Regions from separate parts of the Homo sapiens genome. Here regions 1 and 2 are each linked to region 3. The links are contacts of gene promoters, found by promoter capture Hi-C in human tissues and cell types (Jung and others, 2019). All regions are on one chromosome and are shown on one strand. The core of a region is centred on a gene start or on the middle of the fragment in contact, and the rest is flanking DNA. Distances in the headings are between cores, read along the strand shown. Region 1 overlaps PCNT (pericentrin). Region 2 overlaps YBEY (ybeY metalloendoribonuclease). Region 3 holds the start of FTCD (formimidoyltransferase cyclodeaminase).

What was found. The method cuts DNA at HindIII sites, captures the fragments that hold promoters and counts their contacts. A contact is called where the count stands out against the background at its distance.
Region 1: a contact is called between a fragment that was not itself captured here and the fragment with the promoter of FTCD in region 3, in 2 of the 25 tissues and cell types used here (mesenchymal stem cells and mesendoderm cells).
Region 2: a contact is called between a fragment that was not itself captured here and the fragment with the promoter of FTCD in region 3, in 1 of the 25 tissues and cell types used here (lymphoblastoid cells).

Annotation. Positions count from the first base shown.
Region 1 is chr21:46,391,645-46,394,344 of GRCh38, forward strand. All of the region lies in intron 21 of PCNT (pericentrin), which reads left to right. Among named protein-coding and RNA genes, the nearest start is that of DIP2A, 66 kb to the right of the region's middle. The HindIII fragment of the contact is 4,353 bases long and covers 1-2,700 here.
Region 2 is chr21:46,290,455-46,293,154 of GRCh38, forward strand. YBEY (ybeY metalloendoribonuclease) reads left to right here. Exons shown (of 5, transcript NM_001314025.2): 3 at 880-1,008. Among named protein-coding and RNA genes, the nearest start is that of YBEY, 5.5 kb to the left of the region's middle. The HindIII fragment of the contact is 7,396 bases long and covers 1-2,700 here.
Region 3 is chr21:46,154,303-46,157,002 of GRCh38, forward strand. It overlaps FTCD (formimidoyltransferase cyclodeaminase), which reads right to left and starts at 1,277. Exons shown (of 14, transcript NM_206965.2): 1 at 1,168-1,277; 2 at 1-30. The coding sequence starts at 1,221. RefSeq lists enhancers at 1-346, 347-1,050. The HindIII fragment of the contact is 26,017 bases long and covers 1-2,700 here.

The DNA of each region.
Region 1 (2,700 bases), core at 53-2,552, 240 kb after region 3:
TCTGAGTCCAACAGCAGCAGCTGGAGGCAGAGCCGAGTGCGGCAAACAAGAGCTACTTTAAAATTTCATTTAAAATAACCAAGTGCCTGATATTAACCCTCATTAGGAAAACATAGTGTTAACAATATTAGTTTGTATCTTTTCAGATTTTTAGATATTTTAGTCTCAAAGGTATTTAAAATGAAAACTGTCAAAACATAAGTTTAAAATGTCGAGCCTGCAGGGAGCTGCGTCCTCAGTAGCTGGTTCAGCTCGAGCAAAGGCTTTTCACATTGCATTCGTGCATCTCAGGCACGTGGGAGGCAGAGGGGCCTGCGCTTCTCTAAAAGTTCCTTCCAGGATGGCCGTGGCCTCGGGGTCATCCCTTCAGAACACAGATTGGAGTTAGAAGCTTGGGCATCGCAGGCACCACCTCAGCCAATTCAGAAGTCTCATTTATTATTATTATTATTTTTTTACATTTTTCTCTTTAGAAAACAACCAGCTTTTGATTTTTGTGGCCATTCTCATTTGCTGTCTTCTGTCTTGCTGATTTTTGCCCTTGTTCGTGTGATTCCTTGTTCCTATGGTTTTGTTTTTGTTTTTGTTTTTTTTGAGATGGAGTCTCGCTGTGTCCCCAGGCTGGAGTGTAGTGGCGTGATCTCAGTTCACTGCAACCTCCGCCTCCTGGGTTCAAGTGATTCTCCTGCCTCAGCCTCCCAAGTAGCTGGGATTACAGGTGAGCACCACCACACCTGGCTAATTTTTTATGTTTTTGGTAGAGATGGGGTTTCACCATGTTAGCCAGCCTGGTCTCGAACTCCTGACCTCAAGTGATCTGCCTGCCTCGGCCTCCCATAGTGCTGGGATCGCAGGCGTGAGCCACCATGCCCGGCCAGCTCCTATGGTTTCTCACTGCCTTCGTTGGGTTGGACGCTTTTGGACATGTTTGCTGCCTTTCACAGGATGTGGGGTTCAGGTCGTGCCTCCTCGTGGTGCCCCAGCCTTTCCACCTGTGGTGCTCGTGTTGACATCTGGGTCCCACAAGCTTATAATTCTTTGGCCCAGGGGGCGTTTTCCAGGGTGGAAGACATTGGTCCCACGGGATGTTTTAAACTCTGCCTATGACTGTGCCCACACTTTGTCCTCTCCTTTTCTTGGTTCATTTCTGTCATTCTCGTTTATCCCGTTCTATTTTTTATATAAATTTCTGATGCTGAAGGATTAGCCTGGTGTTTTTCCCCTCGTGTATCTTTTCTTGTCCTTTTATTTTAAGTCTTTTTTAATACTCTGTTTTAGTTGTGCCTTGTATGGATACCATATTCATGACTGTTTTTTAAAAGCCTGTCTGTGAGTATCTTCTTTTAGTCATTTAGCCAAGTTTTATTTGCCGCACCTCCTGGCGTTGGGCCCTTGCTCGGGGGTGGATTTTCCTTGGCCAGCTGTGAAGTCCTCACTGCGGTGTTGCCTGCTGCCGGGCTCAGGGCGGCGTCATCTCCCCACGGGCCTCTAAGCCCTGTTGCCCCCGCACTCTGTGTGTCCACAGGGGGAGTGCGGGGGAACCTCCAGGGCCAGGAGGGCCTGGAGTCTCTTCAGGTCCCTTCCTCCACCAGTGAAGTGGTGCTGGAGACATGACTCGAGATCCTGTTTCTTTTCCTTTGACGCCCTCGTTTTCCTGCATCTCCTCAGGATTTTTCAGGGTGTTTTCAGGAACGTCTCTGACGTCCTGCATCGCTCTCAGCATCTTTGCCCTGGCGGTGCTGTTGCATCTGGGCGTCCGTTGTCGCTGTTTCTCCGATGCTTTCTCTGCTTGTCCTCTGCTGTCCGGGGGCAGCCTCATGGTCGGGCCCCTCCCTGTAGACTCTGCTGCCCCATTTCCAGTGTCTTCGCGCCCAGCCAGCCGGCGCTGGGCCACACCCCGCCGGGGGAGACCACCTGGTGTTTCATCACCTCGAGCCCTTGGACTTCAGCCAGTCACTTCGTTTGTCAGGCCTCCGGGCAGATAAAGGGGTGTGTGGCCTGCATTCTGTTGAACGGCCCGGTGAGGCCGGGGCCCTGTGGCTAGCGCCCCCGTGTCAGGTGCCTGTGTCGTGCCCTGGGCCTGAGCACGTGGGTCTGAGCACTGCAGGGCTTCTTCCCAAGGCTGTGGTGGCCCGTCTGCTGCCTTGCCTCTGGTTCATCTCCTGCCACAAAGCCTGGCCCACCAGGGAGTGTCGTGACAGGTGGATGTGGGCCCTGGGTGTCCATAGCCTGGCTGGGCTCCCTGCAGGCCCCAGGATTGAAGCTGAGGCTTACCATGGGCCTTGCAGTGGCAGGCGCCTGGCATGCCGGGAGTGGATCTCATGGAGCCCTTTCGCAGGCTCGGGCCAACTTTGTCACTGGGAAATTCTCGTTGTTTCTCTGGGGTCCTCTTTGTTTGCTTTCCTTTCGACATGGTTAACCCTGCCCTAGTTTCTCACTCTGGTTTGTTTTCTTTCCTTTCACCCTGGCTCTGCGGTTGTGTGACTCTGCGCCAGCTACCGGCCCTGACCACTCTCCCGGCAGGGCCTAGGCTCTGACGGTGGCGTGAACCCGGCCCTGGTGTGCAGCGGCCCTGCCTCGCCGTGTTGCGTGACGCCCCCTTCGCTGTGTGGTGTTTTGTGGCTCTCTTCAGGTGTTGCCATCTGTCCCTTTTGTTCTCTTTGTCTCCTTGAAAAGTTGATGGGCCTGCAGCCGCACAGG
Region 2 (2,700 bases), core at 19-2,518, 140 kb after region 3:
CGGCCTCCCAAAGTGCTGGGATTACAGCTGTGAGCCACCACGCCTGGCTATTCTGACAATTTTCACAATGGAAACAATTTAGGGCACTTGTGTACGGTTGGCTGGGCAACCCACCCGCCACAGGCCCAGCTGCCACTCTGGCCTGAGACATGCATCTTAAGAGTGATTTGGGTGGCTGGCACAGTGGCTCACGCCTGTAATCCCAGCACTCTGGGAGGCTGAGGCAGGCAGATCACCTGAGGTCAGGAGTTCGAGACCAGCCTGACCCATATGATGAAACCCCATCTCTACTAAAAAATACAAAAATTAGGCCAGACGCGGTGGCTCACGCCTGTAATCCCAGCACTTTCGGAGGCCAAGGCGGGTGGATCACCTGAGGTTGGGAGTTTGAGACCAGCCTGACCAACACGGAGAAACCCAGTCTCTACTAAAAATACAAAATTAGCCGGGCGTGGTGGCGCATGCCTGTAGTCCCAGCTACTCGGGAGGCTGAGGCAGGAGAATTGCTTGAACCCAGGAGGCGGACACTCCAGCCTGGGCAACAAGAGGGAAACTCTGTCTCAGGAAAAAAAAAAAAAAAAGAAATACAAAAATTAGCTGGGCACGGTGGCATGCACCTGTAATCCCAGCTACTCAGGAGGCTGAGACAGGAGAATCACTTGAACCCGGGAGGCAGAGGTTGCAGTGAGCCGAGATCGCGCCATTCCACTGCAGCCTGGGCAACAAGAGTGAAACTCCGTCTCAAAAAAAAAAAAAAAAAAAGTGATTTGGCTCAGAGATAAGTGCTTATTTGCCTTGGGATTAACCAGGATGAAACCTGTCAACCTGTGGTTGGGTTACGTTTCCTGTTCTCTAAGTCTACATTTCCTCATTTTTTAGCATCTGAAAGCAGGTGAATTTCCCCAGCCTGATTTTCCAGATGACTACAATTTGGGAGACATTTTCCTAGGAGTGGAGTATATCTTCCATCAGTGTAAAGAAAATGAAGATTACAATGACGTCCTGACTGTAAGCGGGGATGCTGAAATCATATAACCTGGCTCATGGAACATGGGCCTTGCAAAGGGGTCAAGATCACAACCCTGCATCCATGTGTGTCCGTGGGTACCGTAAGGGCTACTGGGGGAAGAACCTGTAAGCAGGGTGTGAGGAGCACCCAGGCTGGGTAGGGACTGCATGCCCCATGCCACAGTTGAAGGAGGGAGAGAACACGCTGTGAAAACACAGAAGCTCCCAGAGAAGCCTTCTCAGCTTTTATCTCTGGAGTAGAGCAGACTATGTTGAGCTAACACAGACCTGCTGAATCAGCTTCTTTCTGAGCTGCCAGAAGTACAGAAGTTGGAGCCTCCACCACCTTCCAGATCTGTTTCTCCTCAGTGTAATCCACCTATGGGTTCTTCCTGCCCACTGCACAGACAAAACCAATTCACTGCAATTGTGGTATTGCAGTAGAGAAAGAGTTTAACACAGAGCTAGCCAAGCAGAAAGGCTGGAGTTATTATTCAACTCAATCTCCCAGAGAACTCAGAGGCTACAGTTTCTACAGGCAATTTGGCAGGCAGGGGCTAGGGAATGCCTGCTGCTGATCGGCTGCAGACGGACCATGGGGTGTCAACGATTTTTGTCCCCTGAGTCCGCCTCTGCGTGGAGCCACGGGATCAGCTGAGTCATGAGTCTCAGGTCCAGGTGGAGTCTGTAGGTTGCCAGAACTCAAAAGTCTGAAAAACATCCCAAAAGACCATTCTTAGGTTGTACTATTGACGTTATCTTATTGGGGAGCAATTGGGGCGGTCACAAATCTCGTGACCTCTGGCTGCGTGAGTCCTGAGCAGTAGGGAATTACAGCAGGGCAAGCTGGGGAAGCAAGGCCTGCGGGCTGGTTCTCCTCAGGACACCTACATCTGAGCAGAATTCAGGCCCCTCCCATCATCCTAATCTTGTGGCCCTTCACAAGCTTCACAGAGGTGGCTTCGGTCTTGAGCAAGGAGGGGATTCGTTTTAGGGAGGGATGATTACTATTCTTGATTTAAAGTTAAACTCTAGATTAAATTCCTCCCGTGGTTAGCTTGGCCTGTGCCCGGGACTGAGTGGGGACAGCCACGCAAGTTAAACTCTAGATTAAATTCCTCCCGCGGTTAGCCTGACCCGTGCCCGGGACTCAGTGGGGACAGCCACGCAAGTTAAACTCTAGATTAAATTCCTCCCGCGGTTAGCCTGACCCGTGCCCGGGACTCAGTGGGGACAGCCACGCAAGTTAGACTCTAGATTAAATTCCTCCCGCGGTTAGCCTGACCCGTGCCCGGGACTCAGTGGAGTCAGCCACACAAGTTAAACTCTAGATTAAATTCCTCCCGCGGTTAGCCTGACCCGTGCCCGGGACTCAGTGGAGTCAGCCACGCAAGTTAAACTCTAGATTAAATTCCTCCCGCGGTTAGCCTGACCCGTGCCCGGGACTCAGTGGGGACAGCCACACAAGTTAGACTCTAGATTAAATTCCTCCCGCGGTTAGCCTGACCCGTGCCCGGGACTCAGTGGGGACAGCCACACAAGTTAAACTCTAGATTAAATTCCTCCCGCGGTTAGCCTGACCTGTGCCCGGGACTCAGTGGGGACAGCCACGCAAGTTAAACTCTAGATTAAATTCCTCCCGCGGTTAGCCTGACCCGTGCCCGGGACTCAGTGGAGTCAGCCACACAAGTT
Region 3 (2,700 bases), core at 27-2,526:
TGTGATGGCTCCAGAGATGGCGTCGATCACCTGGGACACAGGCCCGGCCCCCACACCTCAGTCTCCCCGTTTGAAAGAAGGAAAAGGAGCTTGGAGGTGGCTGCACCCCGAGACACAAATGGGGGCTGAGGAGGCGGGCCAAGCCTTTGGGGGCTCTCCGACAAGCTGAGCTCCCACCGAAAGTGCCCGCACACAGCGGCCGCCCGGGAACCCTCACAGCAGCCACAGTCACTCCAGCCCAAGCACAGTCCCCACAAGGGGCTGCAGGTGGTGCCTCCAGGAGAGACTCACGGGCTCTGCTCCGACAGACAGATGCCAGAGACGTGGCCGGGGATCCAAGAAGGTGACCACAGGCGCAGGTCACAGAGGGGCCGGGACCCCCACCCCCGAGCAGGGGAGGGACAGATCACCAGCATGGGGGAGGGGCCTGAAGGGCCTAGAACCTTCCGGGTGGCAGGACTGCTGGGAGCAGGGGCTCAGCCCCAAATCTTGCCCTGTCCCAGGGCCTTGGTGCTGGCTGGAATCCCGGCATGACGAGGCCTCCCTGCACCCCTGCGGGTGACCCCTGTGGCCTGGTGCTGCGCTCTGGGAGGCCTTCCAGGTGGCCCTTAGGGCCTGCGTTTGTTCCCGGAGGAGCCTGGACCTCAGGGCTGTGGAAGGCGAGAGGCCGGACCTGGGGGCCTGCTGCCCCCTCTGTGCCTACTTCGTTTTGGGTCCAGTGAGGATGGTGGCTGCAGGGTGGGGGCTCAGCAAGCTAACTCCAGTGGAGATGGAGAGGCGGCAGTGGGGACCATGCTGGGCCACCTCGTGTGGCCTCACACAGCCCTTTCAGTCAGTGGCAGGAGCCCCATTTTCAGGGGGGAGCACCAAGGCCCTTTGAGGCCCAGAGATCTGCCCAACCCCCCACCGAAAGCACCCGAAAGGCCCCTGAAGCCACAGCCAAGCCTCAGCCCCCACAAGCACCAGTCGTGTTCCACCCACCCCTGGGTCAGGCACTCCCCAGGGCCCTGAGCCACGGGATGTCCTTGGGGCCCACGGGCAGCGGCTCTGCCCATCCTGGGAAGACGACCCGGGACACCAAGCCCACCACCTCCTCCATGGCCTGGGCCTTAGCCACTCAAGCTGCCCCATCAGCCCTAGATGCTTGACCAGCTCCTCGGGCCTCACCTCCTGGTTCTTCCCCTCCGAAAAGTTGGGGACGCATTCCACCAGCTGGGACATGGCCAGCACCTTGATCCAGATGCTCCTCTCTGGGCAGATGGAAGGACAGGGCCAGTGCTCCGCAGCCGCCGCCAGGGCCTTTATACGCTCACCGGCAGCACCTCCCCACCGGCTTCTCATTAACCAGCAAGGCACAAGGAGCAGTGGGGCCAAGGTCCCTGTGCAGCCGCGGAGTGGGGTGCTGCAGAGCCACCCCGGGTGCTGTTGACCCAGAGGGGATGGCTCCACTCAGCCAGAGTGTGGGTTCCCGGAAAAGAAGCACATGCCAGGGTGAAGGGGCATGTGCCGAGGACCCCCAGGAGCATCAGGCCAGCCTGGCTGGAATCCTGTCGTGACGAGGCCTCCCTGTGCCACTGCGGGTGACCCTCGTGACCCTGTGCTGCCTTCTGGGAGGCCTTCCAGGCAGCCCGTGGGGCCTGCGTTTGTTCCTGGAGGAGCCTGGACCCCTGGGGCTGTGGAGGGCGAGAGGCCAGCATGAGGCCCTGGCTCGCAGCACCCAACTGAGGTCAGCTCAGCTCAGACAGGAGAGTGCAGGGGAGCACGCGTGTGAGAGTGAGTGAGGATACACGTGAGGGCAGGGCAGGGGAACACGTGAGAGTGCAGATACACGTGAGCACAAGGCAGGGGAGCACATGTGTGAGAGCGTGGATACATGTGAGCACAGGACAGGGGAACACGTGTGAGAGTGAGCGAGGATACATGTGAGTGTGGGGTAGGGGAGCACACGTGTGAGAGTGCAGGTACACGTGAGCATGGGGCAGGGGAAGCAAGCATGTGAGAGTGAGTGCAGATACATGTGAGCGCAGGGCAGGGGAACACGCGTGTGAGAGTGCAGATACACACGAGACGGGCATGTGCGATATGGGGGAAGGCAGCTGAGACCCCAGCTCTCCCCAGCTGCTGCTCCCCTGACTACAGGCTCCCCACGAAGTCAGCGGCACCAGGGCCGTGCTCAGAAGGGAGAACTCCTGTCTCCACGTTCAGCCGCTGCCCACTTGCAGTGCTTTTATCATTTTCTCTTTTTTTTTTTTTTGAGACAAAGTCTCACTCTGTCAGCCAGGCTGGAGTGCAGCGGCACAATCATGGCTTCCTGCAGCCTTGGTCCCCAGGCTCAAGAGGTCCTTTCACCTTAGCCTCCTGAGCATCTGGGCCACAGGCACACACCACTACACTGGCTAACTTTTCCATTTTTGGTAGACATGGTGATATGGTTTGGCTGTGTCCCCACCTAAATCTCATCTTGAATTGTAGAGCCCATAGTTCCCACGTCATGGGAGGGACCCGGTGGGAGGTCACTGAATCACGGGGGCGGCTTTTTCCGGTGCTGTTTTTGTGATAGTGAATGGTCTCACGAGATCCGATGGTTTTATAAAGGGCAGTTCCCCTGCACACACCCTCTTGTAAGACGTGACTTTGCTCCTCTTTCACCTTCCACCATGATTGTGGAACTGTTGAGTCCATTAAACTGCTTTTTCTTTA